Linked DNA regions of Homo sapiens: region 1 is linked to region 2. Evidence: promoter capture Hi-C in 16 types of primary human blood cells and fetal thymus (Javierre and others, 2016). All regions are on one chromosome and are shown on one strand. The core of a region is centred on a gene start or on the middle of the fragment in contact, and the rest is flanking DNA. Distances in the headings are between cores, read along the strand shown. Region 1 has its middle 22 kb from the start of OR6B1. Region 2 holds the start of TCAF1 (TRPM8 channel associated factor 1).

What was found. The method cuts DNA at HindIII sites, captures the fragments that hold promoters and counts their contacts. A CHiCAGO score of 5 or more calls a contact.
Region 1: a fragment that was not itself captured here is called in contact with the fragment with the promoter of TCAF1 in region 2 in 1 of 17 cell types (M2 macrophages); the score reaches 5.1 in M2 macrophages.

What each region holds. Positions count from the first base shown.
Region 1 is chr7:144,019,047-144,025,061 of GRCh38, forward strand. No RefSeq gene overlaps it. Among named protein-coding and RNA genes, the nearest start is that of OR6B1, 22 kb to the left of the region's middle. The HindIII fragment of the contact is 783 bases long and covers 1,746-2,528 here.
Region 2 is chr7:143,900,701-143,906,671 of GRCh38, forward strand. TCAF1 (TRPM8 channel associated factor 1) reads right to left here and starts at 1,476. Exons shown (of 9, transcript NM_014719.3): 1 at 1,261-1,476. It overlaps LOC105375549 (a long non-coding RNA gene), which reads left to right. Exons shown (of 3, transcript XR_007060574.1): 3 at 1-1,253. RefSeq lists enhancers at 444-981, 657-706, 5,049-5,549 and a silencer at 1,497-1,636. The HindIII fragment of the contact is 7,751 bases long and covers 1-4,004 here.

The DNA of each region.
Region 1 (6,015 bases), core at 887-3,386, 120 kb after region 2:
ATCATCTCCCACAGGGTCCCTCCCACAACACGTGGGTATTATGGGAGCTACAAGATGAGATTTGGGTGGGGACACAGAGCTAAACCATATCAAGGAGGGAGCAGTTGATGCTGAATGGCTCAAAATAGTACATACCCACTATACTACTTCATTTTGGTTGTGTAAAACCCTCATTTATTTTACTTCCCAAGATGAATGGGGAATTTCTAAAATGCTCATGCTAAAAAAACAGAAACAAAACAGAATAAAACCAAACACACACACACACACTCACAACTTCTCACACTACTGCTGAATGGAGATAACATAGAGTCCCATCGATCACATCAAGCTCCAGGTCTAAAATAAAATATCAAGCAGTCCTGTTCATATGTGCAGATAAAATTGTTGGTTTTTTTTTCCTTTTAAAATGTCTTAAACTTGGAAACAGACAAAATAAACTTTGATTGCCTCTTTTTGTTTCTGGGAGGATCTCCTGTTCATTGTCTCCCATGGTTACATGTGAGTTACACAACAGGGAAATTTGTTTTTCTAAGCATGCTCTGCTCACCAAGGGCATCTTCACTGGTTTATTTAAGTATTCAAACTCAAAAGACTCCCGAAGGCCACATTAGCCACCAATGACTCAGAAGGATATCAGATAAGAACAGCTGCTATTTAGTAAGACAATGTCAGGCATTTCTCTCAGCAGAAGCTTTTGCATCAGCAATCTGTGTACTGGTCCACATAGCCGCCCACAGGCTGTCCTCTTCATAGGTGACAATTTAGATCAAAGGTTGAGATTCACATTGGAGGGTGCAGGGATTTTCCTAACTTAAAAGCCACATGATCCATAGGAACCAGTATGTCCTATAAGAACTGCAGGGACATAGATTGCAGGATTCTCATAACAGGGACGTGCCCCTTATAAGAATCACCAAACACACCAAAAAATTGCCATGCCTATTAGAATAACTATTTATAATTATTTTATTGTTACTCCAAGTCCAGATGTAACTTAACAATCAAGAGTCCTTTTTTGTTTTGTTTTGTTTTTTCAAAATCATTGTGAACCAACCATACAGTTGACACATTCCATCTTAGCTAGTTTCCAGGTTAACAGAGTCAAAATCACATAACTAAACAGTCCAGAGCACTTAAATGAAGGTGCTTCCTCGCTGATCTACAAGGGACCATGGTGTTTTAGAAACCCACTTCTCAGTTCACTTTTAGCATTCTGCAGACACTTTAGAAGTTGAGTTAAGCAGAGGCTATTAGCAATCTGGCGTGGAATTTCTCTGTCAATACTACCACACATTTCTCTGTCAAAACTCCCACAAATGTATAGTGGGGTTTTATTCTCTTTGGTCCCATCAATTTGGGCTAGTGACCAAAGTGAAATACTTGATTCTAAAATTAGGTTTGGGAATTTCTGCATGGCCTAGAAATGGGCCTTCAATGTTCATTCCCCTGTTTCTCTTCAATGACGTACACTTTGTCTTCTACCCCTGAAAAAGAAGAAATAATGATCCCATGAGGACTCACTAATAAGCTGCACTTGGCCCCGGGGCTGTATGTCTGTGAATAAATGACCTTCTATAACAGGAATAACAACTTTGTGTCAGGAATAACGTGTATTTCAGAAGTTCCCTGAATGGAGTTACTTTGGGCTACAACTAGAGAGTTTAGCTTTTTTCTTCATGCCAGCTCAAGACTACCGGGGTCTTTGACAGTTTGGATTGCTGGTTAAAGGCAAAAAAAAAAAAAGCTTCATTTGGACAAGGGAGACCTATGTGCCATCCCCCTCTGCCTTCAGACACTGACAGTCGAAGGTCATTTCTTTCTATCGGAACCACAAGAAGTACTTAATGTACTCTGATAGTCTAAAATTTTCCTATCAAGTCTATTTTCCTATCTATCCTATCTATCAAGCTAGTTTCATAGTCTGACTCACAAGACAGCATAGGTGGCATTTTAACCAGCTGTTTTGCAAACACGTAATGCAGATCACTAACGTCCCAGCATGGGAAAGAGACATGCCCACGACCCTCCATCCTATCTCATTGTAGCCGATCTCACCTCTTAGGGCCTCCTTGCCTCACGCATCTCTGGTACCAGATTAATTATCAGTTAGGAACCTTTCCAATATAAGTAACAGAAAATTCAGCTCAAAGTGGCTAAAACAATAGACTGTATTCGTTCACATAACTAAACAGTTCTGATGCCACAGGTGAAGAGGCTAACTCACTGATCCTCAGTGCACAAGGTCAGCGGTTACATTCCAGCTGGCTTTCTGTGCTGTGTATCATATAAAGGAAGTCCCTCAAGGGCTTGGCCCCTTGCGAGGAGGGGACTCCATGGCTTTTCCTCACTCTTGTGCTGAGTCTTCTCCCTCTGTCTTTATTTCTCTTCCCAAAGCCATCCTCCTTATCAAAACTCTCCGCTAAACCCCAGTTCCCCCGCCCACCCCATCTTCCAATTCCTCTTGGTGAAAATGCAGCCCCTTCTACCGGGAGGTCTTGCTGCTCCTCAGATCTTTTCTTGCCCAAAGCTTCAGCCAGACAAGCCTTAGTATTCACTGCCATTCAATCCCTGAGGATGAACGTGGGTTCTCTAATTAAAATTCAATTTTTTTACCAGTGCTAACCTCCAGCCTGCTTGTTCCATTTCTAGATTGCCTGTTAAATAACAACAATTTTCAAAGAAAAATGTTGACTTTAATCAGAGAAAATACAGGACACTGATTGTTGGGCTCCAGCCATGGCCTTCAATCAGCGGCTATTAGTAAGTGTTTTGAGAGGCACCTTTGAATTGGTCTCCCTGGAACTCAATGTCTATTTTATAGACTGTTTGTTTGTTTCAGGATGCATCTAACAAAAATATTTTGACTTAAGGCCACTCTTTGACAGAAACACAGACATATATATATATATATATATTTTTTTTTTTTTCTGGAGGGCAATTTAATATGTAGACCCTTTAATAAATAAACACATAGATAAGTAAGTATGACAAATATTTATTGCATGCTGAGGAAACAGAGTAATGGAATTCATAAATTCCATTTATGAATTTTAAACTTGAAGCTAGAGAAACACAGTATACACATGTTGACTTCAGATTATAAAAAAGTAGCATGAAGAAAATAAAGAGAATATATTGATTCTATTAGTCAGGTTCTTGCCAGGAAACATAGTTTATCTCAGATGATTCCAATGAAGAGATTTTAGTGAAGGCACCACTTACAGAGATGTGAACTGGGATACAGGAACAAACAAGGGATGCTGAGGCACCCAGAGACCAGCAACATTAGGAAGCCATTAACATCTCTAAGAGCTGGCAGAACAGGCAGCTCTTCTAAGAGCTGGAGGGATTCAGTTATGCTAGAGACATAGTATAAAGCACAGGGAGAATTGGAAGGAAATCCTGCTATCTCAGTCTCCTTTTGTTCTTTTATCTCCAAAGGGAGACTGAGATAGCAGGATTTCCTTCTAATTCTCCCCATGCTTATTCTGTTGGCTGAATCTATCCAGAAACCAGGCAGCAAAAAAAAAGTTGGGAGATGTAAATGATAGGACCCAGTCTCTTGGGGAAAGAAAAAGTCAGAGAGCAGATTTGGGGTAGTGGGGCAGGGCAGGTCAGGGTAAGCATAGACTGCTTTAGGAACAATGATCAAGGGAAGGACAGGAGGAGGTAGCATTGTACACAAAGCCCAAATGATGAGCTGGAGCCAGCTGTGGGAAGTATAGGGCAGTGGCTGCAAAAACCTGTCTCTGGGCTAGACTTCTGATTTGAAGCTAGTTCCTGGTGTGTAAACTTGGATGACTTTACCCTCTCTGTGCCTCAGTTTCCTCATAATTGAAACAAAGCTAATAATCACACCGATTCCATTGCATTGTTTTGAAAACTCCATTAAATACAGATAAAGTACTTAGACCCATGCTTGGTATATAGTCAGCGCTCAATGAAATATTATTTTATTTGTATTTGGGCAAATGTTTATGAGCAGAGCAAGTACTGAGTGTAAAAGTTTGTAGTGAGAACTAGAGTAGCATGTCCCATGAATAAGGCTGATAATGATGTGGTTAAAGTAAAACTTGCAGTATAGGAATTCCAATTAGAAACTTATACTAAGAAAATGAAGTTATGTAAAAGTAAAAATGGGATGCTCATTGCAATGTTGTTTATAACAGAAAAATCAGGGAATGGGACAGCATTTCAAAAAATATAGTTCAATGGAGTAAAATGTAGCATATTCTTATATTGGAAAAGGTAGCTAATGACATGGAAAGTGGCGTATAGTGATGATATATTATTGTTAGCTCAGCAATAATATAAATTACATATTTAGATTTAATATTATAAATTTAATGATTTATATTTAATAATATGAATTAAATATAATTTAATTGCACTGCACTCCAGCCTGGGTGACAAAGTGAGATCTTGTCTCCAAAAGAAAACAAACAAACAAAAAGATGTCTGGTGTAAAACATGGCTTTTGTAGGAGGAGGCTGGCCATGATTTACTTGATATTAAAAATTATCAGAGATCTTCTGGATCAGAGCAGCTTCATCAATCTTTCCTTTTGTTATGTTGTCATGGTAACAATAGGGCTCAGGCTAAAGCAGCCCTTATAGTTCAGTGTAAATCATATTTAACATTTGAGAAGTTTCCCCTTTTGACTCATGCTTTGACTGAGACGTTGAAAGATCCGCATGGTGTGCTGAGACAATATGGTCAATAACGATCTTGATCCTAAAATCTAGATATACTAAAATTTAAAAGGTGTTTGTCTAGGAGTGGATGGCTTGCCGGGTTTTTGTATCTCTTCCTCTTCACCCTGACCTTGCTTCTTCTTCACTACAGTGTATTTTCTACTTTTTTTCCTGTTTAAAAATGCTGTATCACTTGTTTTTAAGATAAAATAATTCCCTGTCCCCTCCACCCTGCAGATTAAAATGCTAATCTGATGCTGTTGGCCTCCTCTTCAGAACACCTCAGTGTTTCTCTCCACCACCTGCAGTCAGAGGCAGGGTCCTGTGCTTCGCAGCATCGCTGTACCTCTCAGCGTCACCTGTACCTCTCAGCATCGCCTGTACCTCTCATCATCGCCTGTACCTCTCAGCATTGCCTGTACCTCTCATCATCGCCTGAACCTCTCATTATCGCCTGAACCTCTCATCATCGCCTGTACCTCTCAGTACTGCCTGTACCTCTCATCATCACCTGTACCTCTCAGCATTGCCTGTACCTCTCAGCATCACCTGTACCTCTCAGCACCGTCACCTGATACTCCCAACTAGCACTTGATGTTCTCAATCTTCCTGTAGTTTCCAAAACACAACTTGCTGTTTCAGGCCTCCTTGTCTTTGTTCAGGCTGTTCACTGGGCCTAAAGTATCACTTCCTCTTCAGCTATTCGTATTTTTTATTCTTCTAGTTTATTTAGGCATCACCTCCTCCAAGAACCTTACTCACTAGCAACCCCTCTTCCCACCCAAGCCACTCAGCTGTCCTATCATCTATTCTCTGAACTCAAAGAAGCAGGAATCTTGTGTCATTCATCACTGTGTCCCTAGAGCCTAGCATAGCACCTGGGATATAGTTGATGCTCAAGTAACATTGTTAAACTAAGCTGAACTGAATCAAGGGGGATTTGTGCTTCCTACAAGAGAGAAAAAGACAAAACATTTTTCTGGGGCCATGTACAGGTATTTTTCTGATACGATTCTAAATGTCTTGAAAATTTCCTTAAGAGAAGCATCCAGAAGGTCACACAAGCTGTTTCTAACTGACTCCACAAAGACTCAGCTATGAGTTGTTTGCTTTAGACAGACTGCAATCATAACATGGGCTCAACAGATCTAGAGGCTTTTTAAGGCATCAGCAAACATGTAGCATGCCACAAAAGCAGCAGGTGGGTTTATTGAGGGAGAGAAGCCAGAGTGTCAGCTTCTCAAACTCAAGATGTTAAAAACTCATCATTTTTTGATTCCTTCATCACTCACAAAAACAAAACAGACTCTAGTTTTCT
Region 2 (5,971 bases), core at 226-2,725:
TAGGTGTTGGGGTAATTTGTTACATAGCTTATAGATAAATCATACACCTCCAAAAGTAGAAACAATCCAATGTCCATCAGCAGTAGAATGGATAAATTATGTACATTTACACCTTAAATGACGAAAACGAAAATGGAAGGAAGCATGAAAGATGAATCTATAAAACTTAAGAATACGTACAGGATAATGTCATTAATATAATGTCATTATAATGAGAAAGCCAATACATATGTTTTAGGAATACACACACAAATATGGTAAAACTAAAAAGAAAAGCAAGGGATTCATTAAATTAAGACAAAAATCACGAAAGATGTCACATCTCAGAGAATGGAGGAGAATGGACCATGGGCATCAGTTGGGACTCATGGGCTTCTAAGGTACTGTGACGCCCTATTTCTTGACCCAAGGAGATGGTCAGGCATTCGTTTCATTATTTTTTAGACCATTCTGAGATATTTCATTTACTTTTTATTCAACATTTTAAAACAAAGTATTGAAACCAATTCATCAACAAATCACTAGTTTGGAGGATGAAAGTGATGGACCGATGGTTGGCTGGTCAGCTAGACAGACACATTCTGTCCTTTACGTCTAGTTCGAGCTGTACTTCTTCTAAATTTCCATGATTATCCAATTGGCAAAGATCTTTTTCTCCTGTACTTAAGGCCTTCTTCCGTTGCAGGTTGGGCCAAACTAGCGGCCAGCTCTCGGCTGTTTACCAGGGAACTGTATCACCCAGCACTTGCTGCTTCAGGCCAAATGCATTCCAGACTAACATTCAGCCTGAATCCCCGCGCCGCTCTCACCGCCACCCCTCCCCAGGTCCCTTCCCCCACCACAAACCCACACTGCGCCCGTGGGCGCCTAGAGCACTGGGGTGGATGAGAACTTCCACCTGGGCTTAACGGAGACAAGCTAGCCTAGAAGAATGCAAGCCCCCAGCTGGCGAGATCAAATCGCCTCGAGGGTTCCTGCTAGCTCAGATCTTAATGGCTCCTTGCGGAGCAAAAAACAAATCCTACGAAAATAGGGGGGGTCATCGCCTCCTGCCCAGCAGAGGGCATAACAATGCGGCGAGAATGAAATAGGCACCGAGCTGCAGAGAAAAATCATCAACGGGGTAGAGACGAAGGAAGGGATCCTCGGTGGAACGGCTCTATCACCTGGGGGCGCGCGCAGAGGCCGCAATCCACGCCCGGCCCTCCCCAGACGCTAAACGTCGCACCCCGCCCACCGCTCCCCGCCCCGGACACTAACCCGGGGCCCAGGCCTCGGTCACCGCGGGCCTCTCCTGGTCCAGAGTCTACGCTGAACCCCACTCACTGTTTGCCCCGCTGTTCCCTGCAGCGCGGGTTCGGGGCAGTAGCAACCTGCTAGGAGCGGGAGGCGGTTGTTCCCAGGAGGAAGCAGCTTCTCCGCCCAGGAGGCAAAGGGCAGCGGGCTCGAAACTACAGGACTTGGAAAGTCTTAGGCGGAGACTGCGGGGGTGGGGGGTGGTGAGGAGGGGCCTTCCAGGGAGCTGATTGGTCGACGCGGACGGGGGCGGGACTTGGCCGGCGCCGTCCCTCCCCTAGACCTCAGAGGCCCTGCCCGCAGATGTGGCGCCAAATCCCGGATGCAGGCCTAGGCGCCAGCCCAGGAATATAGGGAGCAAATTGTTAAGAACAAAACAAAACAAAACAAAAGTGAGAATACTTCTGAACAAGTGACGGCCTTGATAAATAGCGAGAGATGTTTATATAAAATAATACAGGACTATTTTTAAGGACGAGTGAAATCTATCGGTTCTAGCTATAGTTTTTAATTAAAAAAGCAAGTTGTATTAAAATGGAGAGTAGGATCTCTCTTTCCCCCTCCCCTCCCCTCCCCTCCCCTCCCCTCCCCTCCCCTCCCCTCCAGGGGGAGGGTCTGCTTCTGCCACCCAGGCTGGAGTGCAGTGGTGCCATCACAGCTCACTGCAGCTTCAACCTCCCAGGCTCAAGCGATCCTTCCACCTCAGAGGCTGGGACCACAAGTGCGCCGCCACCACGCCCAGCTAACTTTTTGATTTTTTGTTAGAGACAGGGTTTTACTTTGTTGCCCAGGCTGGTCTCGAACGCCAGGGCTCAAGTGATCCTCCCGCCTCGGCCTCCCAAAGTGCTGGGATCACAGGCCTGAGCCACTGCATCAGCTTTAGCATTACATTCGTGTATGAAGAAGACATGCTGCATGTGCTTCTATAAGAGGCGGGGCTAACGGTGGAGAAATTGTCTATTGATTCTTACCTTCACAACCACTGAATTGTTTTTTTTTAAACCAATACATTGTTTTTATAAGTTTAATAAAACAGTAAGGCGTTGAGAATGTTACTAACCAATCAACAGATGACAGATATTGGGCATGAGGGAGGAAAGAAAGAAAGGAGTAGCAGGGAAAAAGCCTGGACTTTGAAGCCACCACATCCTCTGCTTACAAGTTGGGCAGTGTATTCATTGCTAAGGCTGCTGTGATAAATTTTCACACATTTAGTGGCTTAAAACAACACAGATTTACTACTATCTTCCAGGACTGTAGGTCCTGGAAGTCCAGCACAGGTCTCACTGGGCTATCATCCAGGTGTAGGCAGGGATGTGTTTCTCTTTGCAGGATCTAGGGACAAATCTATTTTCCTTGCTTTTTCCAGCTTCCAGAGGCTCCCGCATTCCCTGGCTTGCAGCCCTTTCCTTCATCTTCAAAGTCAGCAATCTCATGGCTCCAGCCTCTGCTTCTGTGTCACATCTCCTTCTTTGAGTCTCCTGCTTCCTTCTTTCACTTAGAAGGACCTTGTGATTACATTGTGCCTATCCAGATAATCTAGATAATTTCCCATCTCAAGGTCAGCTAATTAGCAGCCTTCATTCTGTCTGCAACCTTAATTCTCCCTTGCCATGTAGCATTGCGTATCACAAATTCTGGGAATTAGGATCTGGACATCTGTATTAATCCATTTTCACACTGCAGATAAAGACATTCCCCAGACTGGGCAATTTACAAAAGAAAGAGGTTTAATTGGACTCACAGTTTCACGTGGTTGGGGAGGCCTCACAATCATGGCAGAAGGCAAGGAGAAGCAAGTCACATCTTATGTGGATGGCGGCAGGCAAAGAGACAGCTTGTTCAGGGAAACTGCCGTTTTTAAAACCATCGGATCTCCTGCGACCTCTCCACTATCATGAGAACGGTTGGGGAAAGACCCACCCCCATGATTCAATCATCTCCCACCAGATCCCTCCCATAACACGTGGGAATTATGGGAGCTGCAAGATGAGATTTGGGTGGGGGCACATAGCCAAACCATATCAACATCTTTAGGGAGCTATTTTTCTGCCTATCACAGAGGGCTTGTTAACTTCTATCTTAGTGTTTTCATCTGTAACATTGGGGATAATAATTGTCTCTACTTCATGGAATTTTTATGAAGATTAAATGACTTAATACAGATAAAGCTCTTAAAGCAGTGTCTGGCACATGGAAAACCCTATGTGAATGTTCACCATTACCAGAGAATGGACAGATCCTTCCAGACTTCTTCCATGATTTCCTTGGCCCTTGTCTCCTTTGCTCTTCAAATCTCCAAGTTGTGTGTTCTCTCCTCATTTCCCTGCAAATCTAGTCTCCCCTCAAAACTACATAGGCCTAGCCTGAGATTGGAGGGCAGACATGGATGGGACTTTACTTCTAAGAGATTTCTAGAAGTGAATGCACCCAGCTACTAGCACAGAGGCATAGTTTATGACTACTATGGTGAAAGGAAAAACCAGCGTCTGGATGTGTTTGTGCGGTTAAATGGGGTGTCTGGGGGGAAACTGTGGGGGCAGGTGGGTGTTTGGGGATTGTAGACTGAGTGTGTCTGAAAGACCAGGATTGCTTGCAGTTACCTCTCTTTCTCATTCTCTCATTTCTCATTCTCTCTGCCAAGACAGCTGCACTTCTCTCTTGCCAGATCCCTTCTCCCCTCAGAAGCTGACAGTCAACAGGACATAAGCTTGCCCACCCCCACTCCCTCTCCAGGCACACAAGCAAAACCCACCATTTTTAGTTGCTGTTGTTTTTGCTGTGCAATTGGTCATAGAATTTCAGAGCTACAACATCTCATCCACTCTCCTCCTTTATATTAATACAAAAAGGAACACTGAAATGCAAGCAGCAGAAGGGGTTTGCAGCAGGTAGAGGTGGAGCATGACCTTGGAATTCAGATGCCAGCGCTCTTGCAGTACAAAGTCCTTGAGGCTGAGATCACTGGCTAGTCCTCTCGGCGCCTCATGTTTCTGTGTGTGTGTGTGTGTGTGTGTGTGTGTGTGTGTGTGTGTGTGTGTGTTTGTGTGTGTATATGTTTTAGGGTATGGAAGGACACGGAGCCAGTGCAGCAGAGAAAACCCCTTCACCAGCAAGCACACCAAGACTCCTGAACCTGGGCCAGTGCGAGTTCTGGGCCAGCCAAGGCCAGGAGTTTCCATTTCACTTGCCTCCTCCCGCTACTGGCCACCCCTCAGCTCCTCCAACCCCCTCACCCACCACTCCCCCACCCCTTTCCTCTCCTTCTCAGGCTTGCTCTTTGTGGACTGGCTGTGATCCTGGGAGGAAAGGAGGAGAGAGGGGAGCCCTGCCAGACTGCAAGCAGAGTGCTGACAGCCCCTAGGAGTTTAAGATGACCTTTCTTACACGTCATCGCATGTTTTATAGCTCTGAAGAGCAGCAGTCTTTTTGGTGGCTAGTAAGTGCAGTACTAGACAACAAGGCAAGTGGTCTGTTGGTAAGAGTTCCTGCCCACGATGCTCTCTACCTGTAAGGAATTAAATTATCTCGGGGATGAAGGTGAACAATATGTAAGAGAGAAGATGGACAGAAAGACCCAAGGGAAATGAGCAGTAAAAGGGAAGCAGGGTTTAGAATTGAGGGAGACCTGTGAGATTGGGGCAGAAAGGGAAAACAGGTCAAACAGGCTCAGAAGGGAAGTGGAGGGGTTTTGCTTTTGAGAAAGGTGCTGTAGGGAGGAGAGACACAGCAGTGGGAGTGAAGGAACCCACAGTGCAGGAAGAAGGTCTTATTTATATTAGAGTGAGGTCATTGGCAAGAGAGAGAGAGAGACAGAGACAGAGACAGAATCCATCTGATTCCCTTCCTTCTGGCTTGACTGGAAGCTGGAAAGGATGGATGGAGAGGGTTGGTGCTGAATTCTGAAACCAGCCCTCGGTAACATGGCCAGCAAATTGCTCTCAGCTTTATGAAATTTGTAGTCTTGTCTATAGTTTAGGAATCTAAACCTGAACCGGTTCTCGAAAACATGGCAATGTAATCTTCTCCATTTCCCAACCTCCCTGCCATCTCTCAGTCCGGTAGCTAGGATGTGTAATTCCTTGCCTCAGGTACTTTTCCAATGCAGAAAGCAAAGCGTCAGGGCCACTTCACGGATGTGTGACCACTGCAGTCCCGTGGACCCCTACACTTAGGAGAGCCTCACCCTTGGTTTAATGCGCTGTTGTCTCCATCTTGGAATTCTTAATACGTTTTGAACAAGAGGCCCCACATTTTCATTTTGCACCGTGCCTCCAAATTACGTAGCTGCTTCTGCAAAGCATCCCGAAGGAGTCAGTCTTTAGTGAAAGCCTGAGCCACTGGACAGATTACCAAAGCTGCTTAGACAGTGAGGTGAGGGTGGGAGGGCCTTGGAAAACCGCCAAAGCCAAGAGGAGAGAATGCAGAGACCTGGGGTAGGGCCTGTGGACCATAGAAGAGCAGTGATGGGCTAACTGACCTATGCATGTGTTACTGTGGTACCCTAAGGAGCTGGCCAGACCCCAGAGGGGATGCCCAGGACCCGGTCGATGACTATGACAGAATTTTCTGTTAAATCAGTGGGATAGGAACTCAACGTCAGCATTGAGTTGACTGAATAAAAACAAAATCATTTCTGTTTACATACATGAAATTTTCAACTGAGACTGATACT